Linked DNA regions of Homo sapiens: region 2 is linked to region 1. Evidence: promoter capture Hi-C in human tissues and cell types (Jung and others, 2019). All regions are on one chromosome and are shown on one strand. Each heading gives the region's core, a stretch centred on a gene start or on the middle of the fragment in contact. The rest is flanking DNA. Distances are from core to core; before and after follow the strand shown.

Region 1 (4,743 bases), core at 474-2,973:
TTTTTCTTTTTTCTTTTTCTCTCGTTTCACCTCCTCTCGAAGTCCACCCTAGTTCACCAATTTCTGCCAAGATCTCTTTCTGCCTGTGTCTTCACTTTCTTCACTGAAAGGCAGAAATGGGGAGTAGGCACCCAGTTCGCGGTGGGCAGGGTTCCAGGAGGCAGCTCCCGCTCGGCGATAGCCCCCGGGGCGCAACTCCCCGCAGGACGCGCACCTGCCAGGACAGCCACTAAGAGGATGCGGAGGTTGGGGGCCCTCTCGGGGACAAAATCAGGGCACTCCAAGGAACTCTCTGCGCGTTCAGGCCTGTCTGTGAAGCTGGCAGGCGGAGGACAATGGGAGCAGGGGTAGGTCTCCAGAGGCGAGCCCGCCTCCACCTTTCCCACCTGCTCCCCACCTCTGCGCCGGCCGCATTTACCCCGCCCCCCTTCCAGCGCCCGCTTGGCCCAGGTCACTAGACGGAGCTAGTGGGGATCGCCAGGGGAAGGAAGGTGCTGCCACAGGGAATTTTCTCGTGCAGAGGGGAGACCTGCAATCCCTGGCTTTCACAACGTCCCCCACCCACCCCATACCACACACGCTTAGTTTAACCAGCAGCGAGGAAGGAGGAGGAGCCGGAGAGCACACAGCCTGGAGATGCCAGGTCCTAGGAGATGTATCCACGGAAGAAGCTTTGCTCTCACACTGAAGCCCTCCCTGGGCTACTTTGGGGAGACAGTACCACCCCCTGCCGCCCAGGTGAAGTAAGCCCGAAAGCCTCAAGAAAACCCCTAGTCCCCGGCGTCCTTCTCTTGATAACCCTCTTTCCCCATTTGGGAAGCCTAAGTTTAGCCGAAAAGCAACTGCAATAAGTTTCCCAAGGGCAGATAGGTGATGTTGGGGGGAGAGGGTAGGGAGCACGAGAGTGCCAGAGAGGTCTTCAGCTGCGCACAAAATCAGCAAGCTAAAGTGCATCTTACTTACCAAGGATTTGGTCTCCGGGTTTCCCATCGGCGAACTGAAACTGGTCCGTGAAGAAGTGGCAAAGTAACATAACTCCTGCAGCGGCCAGGTCGGCCTTCGGGAACCTCGCCATGCCGCCGCCGCCACCTCCCTACCCCACCCGCCAGTCCTTCGCCGGTGCTCGGGGGCTCCCGATGCAATAGGCACGACCGGGCCAAACGCTGCGGATCGGTCTCGGTAGGACCCGGAGGCCTTTGTAAATGTCGCTGCGATTTCACAGTAGGGAACCGAGAAGAGGAAGAAGCGAACGCGAGTAGGAGCGCAGCGCTCTTCGGACCTCTGAGGCTCTCTTTGCAACTTGCCACACTCGCAGCCCTCACCCGACACTGAACAACAACCGCGGGGAGGAGAGGCCACTTGCAGCCGAGGCTCGCAAACTGTCGGTTCCACTCGGGCAGCGCCAACCCGGTGCCCGCGGACGGTGACTTCCGAGCCCCAGCGATGCGCTCCACTGGGTTCAAAACAGATCTAATTCCACAGCCAGCGCCGCTGCCTGCCCCAGATCCACTAGGGCTGGTCGGCTCTGCAGGAACTTTCCTCTGTCTAGGGATGGCCCCGGCAGGAGGTTTAGGTTTGCGGGAAGGAGGTTGATGACGAAACCCTCCCGACAAGTTTTGCTTCTTTTCTTCGCCCGACGCAGGGCGCGCGTCCTTTCTCGCAGCCGGAGGAATGGGCAGCTCCAAAGAGCTGAGCCCTGGGAAGGTTAGGGCTGCAGCAGTCTGAGGTCCGAAGCCAGGAAAAAAATGTGTTTAAAAAAAAAAAAAAAAAAGAGGAAGAAGAAAGGAAAAGGGTGGAGTGGGAGGGAGTCACGCTGGAACCTATCGGGAGAGGGTTCCTCCGGGCTCAGGAGGAGGTGGCCCCAAGCCCCCGCGGAGCCCCAGGAGTTTGGTGGCGGAGGAGGCGCTGCCGTCGCCACGCTCCCCCGCGCTCCTTCTCCACACTTTGAGGAGGGAAGGCAGCTCGCAATTTGCCAGATCTGCCGCCGCACCCTCCTCCCTCCTCCCTCCGCCCTCCCCTTCGCTCCTCCAGGCTTCTCCCACCTTCCTCCCTGAAACCGGCAGCCCGCACAGACCTGTCCAATGGCTGCACTTTCCTCGGGGCTGGCTGAGGAGTCGCGGCCAACAGATTAAGCCGGGGGAGCCTAGCGAAGGGGAGGGAGAGGGCCACTCCAGCCCCGTGCGCCCCAGGCAGCCGGCTGCCCCAGAGCGCGGGGAGAGGGGACAGGCCGGGGAGCTATCGGGGGAGCGCGGGGCGGTACCTCCGCGCCGCCGGGGCGCCATCCTCGCAGCCTGCTCGCACGCCCTGGGCAGCTCCGCCAACTGCGCCCCACACCCACCTGGCTCCCGGGCCGCCTTCGCGCCCGACTGCGGGGGGCGATCGCGCCCCGCCCCGACCCTGGCGGGGTCTCCCTGGGCACGAAAGGGTTAACCACAGCTCGCCCCTTCGCGGAGGCTGGTTCTGGTAGTGGCTAGGGAGTGGAGAAAGCAAACCAGAGCCGGTTCGGTTACCGACTCTGCGAAGCCCCCTCGACCCCAGCCCAGCGCGGGAGGGTGGCGGAAGGTGGTGCACCGCAGCGTGGTCCCCGCCGCTGCCGCCGCGGCTTTGCAAAGTGTCAGCGGGGGCGAAAGCGAGAGTTTAAAGGAACAGGAGGCCCATTGAATTTCCTACCGGAGCTTTCAGGGGCTCTGGCTCCCCAGTTTGTTTTTGTTTTTTCAGCTCGGGGATCTGTTTCCGCGTTAACCCTTGCCGGCCCTCTCGTTAGTTGATATCTTATTTTGCATACAGTTAATCATTTTTGAAAGGGATAAATACAAGGAAAAGAAGCAAAGCGCTATTGGTTAAAAGTACAGGATCTAGAGCCCGGACAGCCTGGGCTGGAATTTCACCTCCCCCGCAATGAGCAGTTTATCTCCTAGCCTCAGTTATCCATCCATCAAATGGAGAGAATTAGAGTAACGCCCTTATAAGGTGGTTGCAATGGATTGGATGAGTTAACTGTATATTTAATAAATATAGAACATTGCCTACCGCAAAGTACATGGCTTTGTTTAAGTGTTTACTGAAGCAAAAGTGAGAGAAGACGACTTCAATCACATAATAAATGTGCATGTGTTCTAAGTTCAAGGTCCTTTCCACTCCAAGCTCTGAAGAGTCTATGGATGCTGTCAATAGATGTCTCGGCTTGCCACAAAACCCACTGGAAGTGGATCCGGATAATCAATCTACCTTTGCAAATGTGATGCTCAAAGGACGGCTCTCTCATGGGAAACAAGAAAGGTTTCCCTTAATCCAATACTCAATTTGCTCTTTATTTCCAAACAACAGATATACACGTATAAACACAAACATATATCATGCCTATACTCTTTATTATGCCAGGACCCTGGCTCTTTCCTGAGCTTTCCTCCCATAGGTTGATTTCTACTTAGGTAACTGGGTTTTTCTATTTCTGCTTAACTAGGAGTGTTTAAGTTCTATGTAATATTACATCCGAATTTGAGTACCCGGATATATACCTGCTTAAAATCAAGTTTGAAAACTGAGTCTTCTCATCAAAACCTGATTGTGCGGTTGACCCTTGAACAACAGGGGTTTGAACTGCGAGGATCCGCTTTTGCATGGATTTTCTTCCTCCTCTGCCACCCCTAACAGAGCAAGACTAACCCCTCCTCTTCCTCCGCTTCAGCCCACTCAATGTGAAGACGATGAGGATGAAAGCCTTTCTGATGATCCACTTCCACTTAATAAACAGTAAGTATATTTATCTTCCTTATGATTTTCTTAACATTTTCTTTTCTCTAGCTTACTTTATTTTAAGAATACAGTATGTAATATGTAGAACATACCAAATATGTGTTAATCAACTGTTTTTATATTATCAGTAATGCTTCTAATCAACAGTAGGGTATTAGCAGTTAAGTTTATGAGGAGTCGAAATTATACATTAATTTTCTACTGTGTGGGGGTCCGTCCCCCTGACCCCCATACTGTTCAAGGGTCAACTATAGTTTAATTGATGCCGATTCTTTTTGAGGATCATAAATCCATGCGGAAAGCGTCCCAAAATATTCTGCACAACTCCAGCTCCCATCATATCTAAAATAATGGGGAATCCAGCGGAAACCATTTCAAGAAAGCACCTCTTTTTTCAGACCGAGTTATTTCTCCTTCTTTCACAGTAGAAAAATAGGTGTTTCCTCCTCTGAGAACAAGCAAATCTCCACCTCTCCTTGCTATCATTTTCTTTCTTTTTTCCTTTATTATTTTATGTGCGTATTCGCAGGGTTCATTTTTCTTGTTACTTGCGGTCATCAATGCTTTGACCACCTGATTGAAACTATATACTTTTTGTAAGTAGAAATTTGATGTCAAAATTTGAAAGGGGGTAAATGGTCATTCAGGGTCAGTCAGGAAGGACTTTTATATGTTTGGTTATGTCACTGATGCTGCTGAATTGTATTGGTTTACTCCTATCTTAATTTTATTCTGAAGAGCTATACACATAGTAAATGCGGAAGTAAGGGAGAAGATACAAGTAAGCAAAACTCAATCATGCTTGATGAGATTTGCTGTTCAGAAATAAAGAAGAAAGAGCAACATTGTATAACAATAAACTCAAGCTCTGATCATTTGCCTTAAATGTTGATGAATGATTATTTTTTTAAAGTATATTCTGCCTTTACACTGTAGCAAGGAACGAATAAATAAAATGTATGTAGGACAGTATGTTCAGAGTGAAAT
Region 2 (4,454 bases), core at 714-3,213, 1.0 Mb before region 1:
AGCATTTTGGATGGAGGTCTGATATAACCTGAACGACCATGTTCATTCATCTGATAACACCAGTTTTTTCTTCATGGGATACAGGATATTGATTTAGAAGTTTTGTCTTAAATTCTGTGACAGGCTGGGTATCACATCACAAGGTTGTAGGAGTCAGACCATATGCATATTTTTCAAAGGAAATACCCTAGAACTTTCTCTACACCTCTTGAACTTCCCCAGAAAATCTGAGAATATAAAAGGATCACTGGAGTAAAGAAGCTTTGGGATGTGATGATTTTATAAAAAGTGTATGTGAAGAAAAAATCGGGGTGCAGGTGAAGGGGTCCTGTTCACTTATCTCAAGGTTGGTTAGGTGGGGGCTTCAGTGGAGTATCCTGAGACCTGTTGTGTGATCTTTGCACTTAGGAAGAGCTGACTCAGGACTGACACCTTACAGGAAATCTGGAAGGCCAGAGGTAGCTGCTTAGCTGCTAGGGAAGTTACTGTTGTTTTGAAAATGACTGACATCCCCAGAGTTAGGCACTGGCCAGGGAAATGGGATTGCCATGATTGAATAAGACAAAGGAAGTGGAGATGGTATAGGTTTCCTGATCAATAAGTGTTCCATTTTGAAGTGGTGGCCAGGGGTGGACGGCCAGGAGCATGAGGAACTTGAAAACCTGCTTTATCCCTTTCCTACTTCTGTTCTCGTCCTGAGAGATAGTCATTGTTATAAGTTTGTTATGGAACCTTCCAAATCTATTTTGTGTTTATATAGATAAACATACACATGTACACACAGCGACTTAAAAAAATCTTAAATGGGGTCAGACCCCATTTAAGTGGTTGATTGTTTTCTCACTTTATATTAAGGATTTTTTTCCATGTTCCTTCATATAGGTCTACCTCATTCTTATAGAAAAATTAAGTGTTCTGTAACATGGATGTGAATATGTGACCATTTATCTTTTGTTGTCTGCAAGGGAAATGTATAATGGGATCTCAACGTTACAGGCCAAAACTAGAATCCCTAATTTTCCCCTAGGTTAGCTTTCCCCAATCTTCAAATGGCGCCAACCAAAGCATAGAAGTCACTTTGATTCCTGTCATCAGCATACTTTATTGATGCCACCCCCATAGTGGTGGTCTAAATCCATCTTTCTTGCCACCCTAGTCCTAAGCCACTATCTCTATCCTCTAGATCATTGCCATAGCTTCCTAACCAGAATTCTGCTATTATTGCCTTCCTAGTAGACATTCTTTTTTTCTTTTTTTTTTTTTTTGAGACGGAGTCTCGCTCTGTCGCCCAGGCTGGAGTGCAGTGGTGCAATCTCGGCTCACTGCAAGCTCTGCCTCCAGGGTCCTAGTAGACATTCTTAACCCAGCAGGAGAAGAATCCTTGAGGCAATTAAATGAAATTTTGTTACTCTCCTCACATGCAATTCTTTAATGGTTTCCAGTCACATCCAGTGTAAATTGATTCACGTGGCTCTGGTGAAGTCTCCACTCTCAGGCTGAGAATCTTAGTCAATAAAAACCCCCCAAATAATAATAATAAAAATCTCATTTGCATATAATCATAGTCATGTCCCATTTTGCCTAAATGACAGGCTCAGATCATTTTCAACCAATGTTCGGGACTTTGCCATAGTTTATTTTTAATATCAAAAGTTTATTTTTCAAATAAAGTCAATGGATCTTATTGTGACACAAATGACCCTCAAGAGTCAAGCCTTCCCATATCTCTGGGCTTGACCATGTGACTTTCTTTAGCCAATGAGACATCAGCAAATGTGACTCAGACTATAAACACACTTCTGCATTAGGGTTTGCCCTCTTGGAATGTAGATGCCGCCATGTTGTTTTAAACCTGCTAAGTTTTGGTGTGTTTTGTTATGCAGACAACAAATAACTGATGCAAAGGGTGTCTAATGTAGTCTATGTGCTTTAGAACACATTTACATTTGAAAGTTCATATTAAAAAATTGTTACATCCTTTTACCATCAGACCTTGGTGGCTGTCTGTTATCAGTGCCTCAGTTTCATCATATTTGTTGGCCTTCAAATGAAACATTTCATTTTGGGGCTTTGAACAGGCTGACTAAAACAGAGTGCTTTTTGTAGACATAGTAATAATTGAATATTAATATTTTGAAAGTTAAACATAATTATGTAAACTTTTATTTAGAAAAGTGATACTGGGAGTGTAAGTCAGTAAAAACAGGAAGGATTATGAGTGGAAGATAGGAGGCAAAATACTCCAAGACTGAGATTTTTGTTTACCACTTACCTAAATTTGAGGATCTCCTAATAAGCAAATCAACATTTACTTTGCAGCAGAGAATCTACAAATCTGGAGTGTGTCAGCATAATAAGAAATAATTGTTTTAAAGCAAATTTAATTGGCTATAGTTAATAGTTTTTTTTAATAACATTTTTCTTTGAAGAATAATATACATATAGAAAAAGCAAATTTATATATGTACAGCTTTCTGAATTTTATAATCAGTTTTCAAATGTGACAGAAGTCCCTAAAGACATGTGTGTCTATGTAATTATGACTATCTTGTAAGCAATTGGTAATCCATTTCCCACTGGCTTAAAAAAAAAACAGAGATAACTTATTTGTTGTTCTTATGATTGAATAGTAGAGAAATTCCTAGGCACGGCTTGATCTAGGACTCAAATAATGAGATATAGTTTCAGCTTGCAGTTCTTAGGTAGACATTCTTGTTTGCAAAGAGGCTTCCAGCAGCTCTTATATGGAAAAAAAGATGCATGCATCCCAGAACCAATTCTGCAGTGTGGGTGATGGGGTATAATGATTTATTGAGTCCAGCAGATCCCAGAGACTTGGGCCAGTTTCTGGATGGTTTAGGAGTGGGGAACATTGACTTGTCCAGTGGCAAATCAGAGAGCCAGTGAAGGGAATAATGATTTATTTAAGCCCAGCTAAGTCCAGAGATTTGAGCCAGTCTCACCGAAGCTGGATGGTTTAGGAGTGGGAACATTGAGTTGTCTAGTGGCAAATTAGGGAGCCAATGAAGGGGAAAAAAGGGGTGGATTCCAGAGAAGCAACCAACACTTATTCACTACAGAGTGAAAAACAGCAATTTTACAATCACTCTTGACTGACACTTAACTAAGCCATATATGACCCAATAATATATCAAGTTTATCATATTGAAATGTTAAATTTTCCCCTTGGCTAGCTGTGTTTTTTCTTCTTCTTAATTCAGATTAGCTGAAAAAAATTGTTCTGATTACTGGTGAATAAGTTATACTAAGTCGTATTCCTACCACAAGTAAAAACTCTATTATTCTATAGAAATAAAAGAAATAAGGATTCAACTTCATTCCAAAAGACATGGTCTTAATGTCAAAATGACATCTCGATTTTTGAGCAGTTTCTCAAATGATTGGAGAGCACTAACTGTATGTTTCATTTTCTGCAGAAAGACTATAAAAGAGATCTGGAGACTGAAATTAAAGGGAAAGGGATGCAGGTGAGCACAGACACTCTTGATGTCCAGAGAGCTAAGAAAGCATCCGAGATGGCCAGCCAGGTAAGACAGCAGCAAGATACAAAGTTTAAAATAAATGCCGTGAATCATAGCTGGAAAGAGCATAAGTTTTCTTTCCACATGGGTGGCTTTGAGATTCAAACATGTAAATTTCAACATCGCTATTAAAGCTTAAGCAAAGCTCTAAGATTATTTTCTGTTCTTTTAGAAACAATACAAGAAGGACTTAGAAAATGAAATTAAAGGGAAAGGAATGCAAGTGAGCATGGATATCCCAGATATCCTTCGAGCCAAGAGGACATCTGAAATCTATAGCCAGGTTGGTCATGAATGAAGATGCTCAGAATCGTGTATTCCAATGTCATGTTGCCATGTGCTTTGTATGTCTCTATGAATGATATCTTTCTGAGGGCATTGCATTCAGAGCTAGTGTACTCTTTCACTAAGAAACCATTGGCCAAACTTGATTAACCGTACTAATTAATAGGACAACAGTCATAGATTCAATGCAACAGACATTATGGAGAGCTACAGCCTCTCTGTCGGGGCTCCTTGTTTTGAGTCCAAGGACATTAAACCTTTTTTTTTTTTTTTTTTTTTTTAAATTTTAGAGATGGAGGTCTCACTCTTTCACCCAGGCTGGAATGCAGTGGCACCATCATAGCTTGCTGCAGCCTCAAACTCCTGGGCTCAAGCTTATCTTCCTGCCTCAGTGGGCATGAGCCATTGTGCCCAGCCCAAGGATATTTTAACCTTTTCTTTCTTTCTTTTTTTTTTTTTGACCCTATTGGACACTTGGCTCAAATGCTTTTGCTAATACTACAGAAAAATAAATTACAAACGTTTTGTCTTTTAACCATTTCATAATGAATATTAATATTAAAATAGTTCCAAATAAAGCTAACAGTGGCTAAAGCTGCACAAGGTATAAAGTGAAGTTTAGTGTTA

Evidence for each region. Contacts are between HindIII fragments. The study calls those that stand out against the background at their distance.
Region 2: a fragment that was not itself captured here is called in contact with the fragment with the promoter of PLXDC2 in region 1 in 1 of the 25 tissues and cell types used here (lymphoblastoid cells).

What each region holds. Positions count from the first base shown.
Region 1 is chr10:19,813,412-19,818,154 of GRCh38, reverse strand. PLXDC2 (plexin domain containing 2) reads right to left here and starts at 1,723. Exons shown (of 14, transcript NM_032812.9): 1 at 964-1,723. The coding sequence starts at 1,075. It overlaps LOC124902388 (a long non-coding RNA gene), which reads left to right and starts at 1,927. Exons shown (of 2, transcript XR_007062078.1): 1 at 1,927-3,753. RefSeq lists an enhancer at 2,034-2,799. The HindIII fragment of the contact is 14,250 bases long and covers 1-4,743 here.
Region 2 is chr10:20,830,567-20,835,020 of GRCh38, reverse strand. NEBL (nebulette) reads left to right here. Exons shown (of 28, transcript NM_006393.3): 15 at 3,438-3,548; 16 at 3,715-3,825. Among named protein-coding and RNA genes, the nearest start is that of NEBL, 65 kb to the left of the region's middle. The HindIII fragment of the contact is 3,953 bases long and covers 1-3,939 here.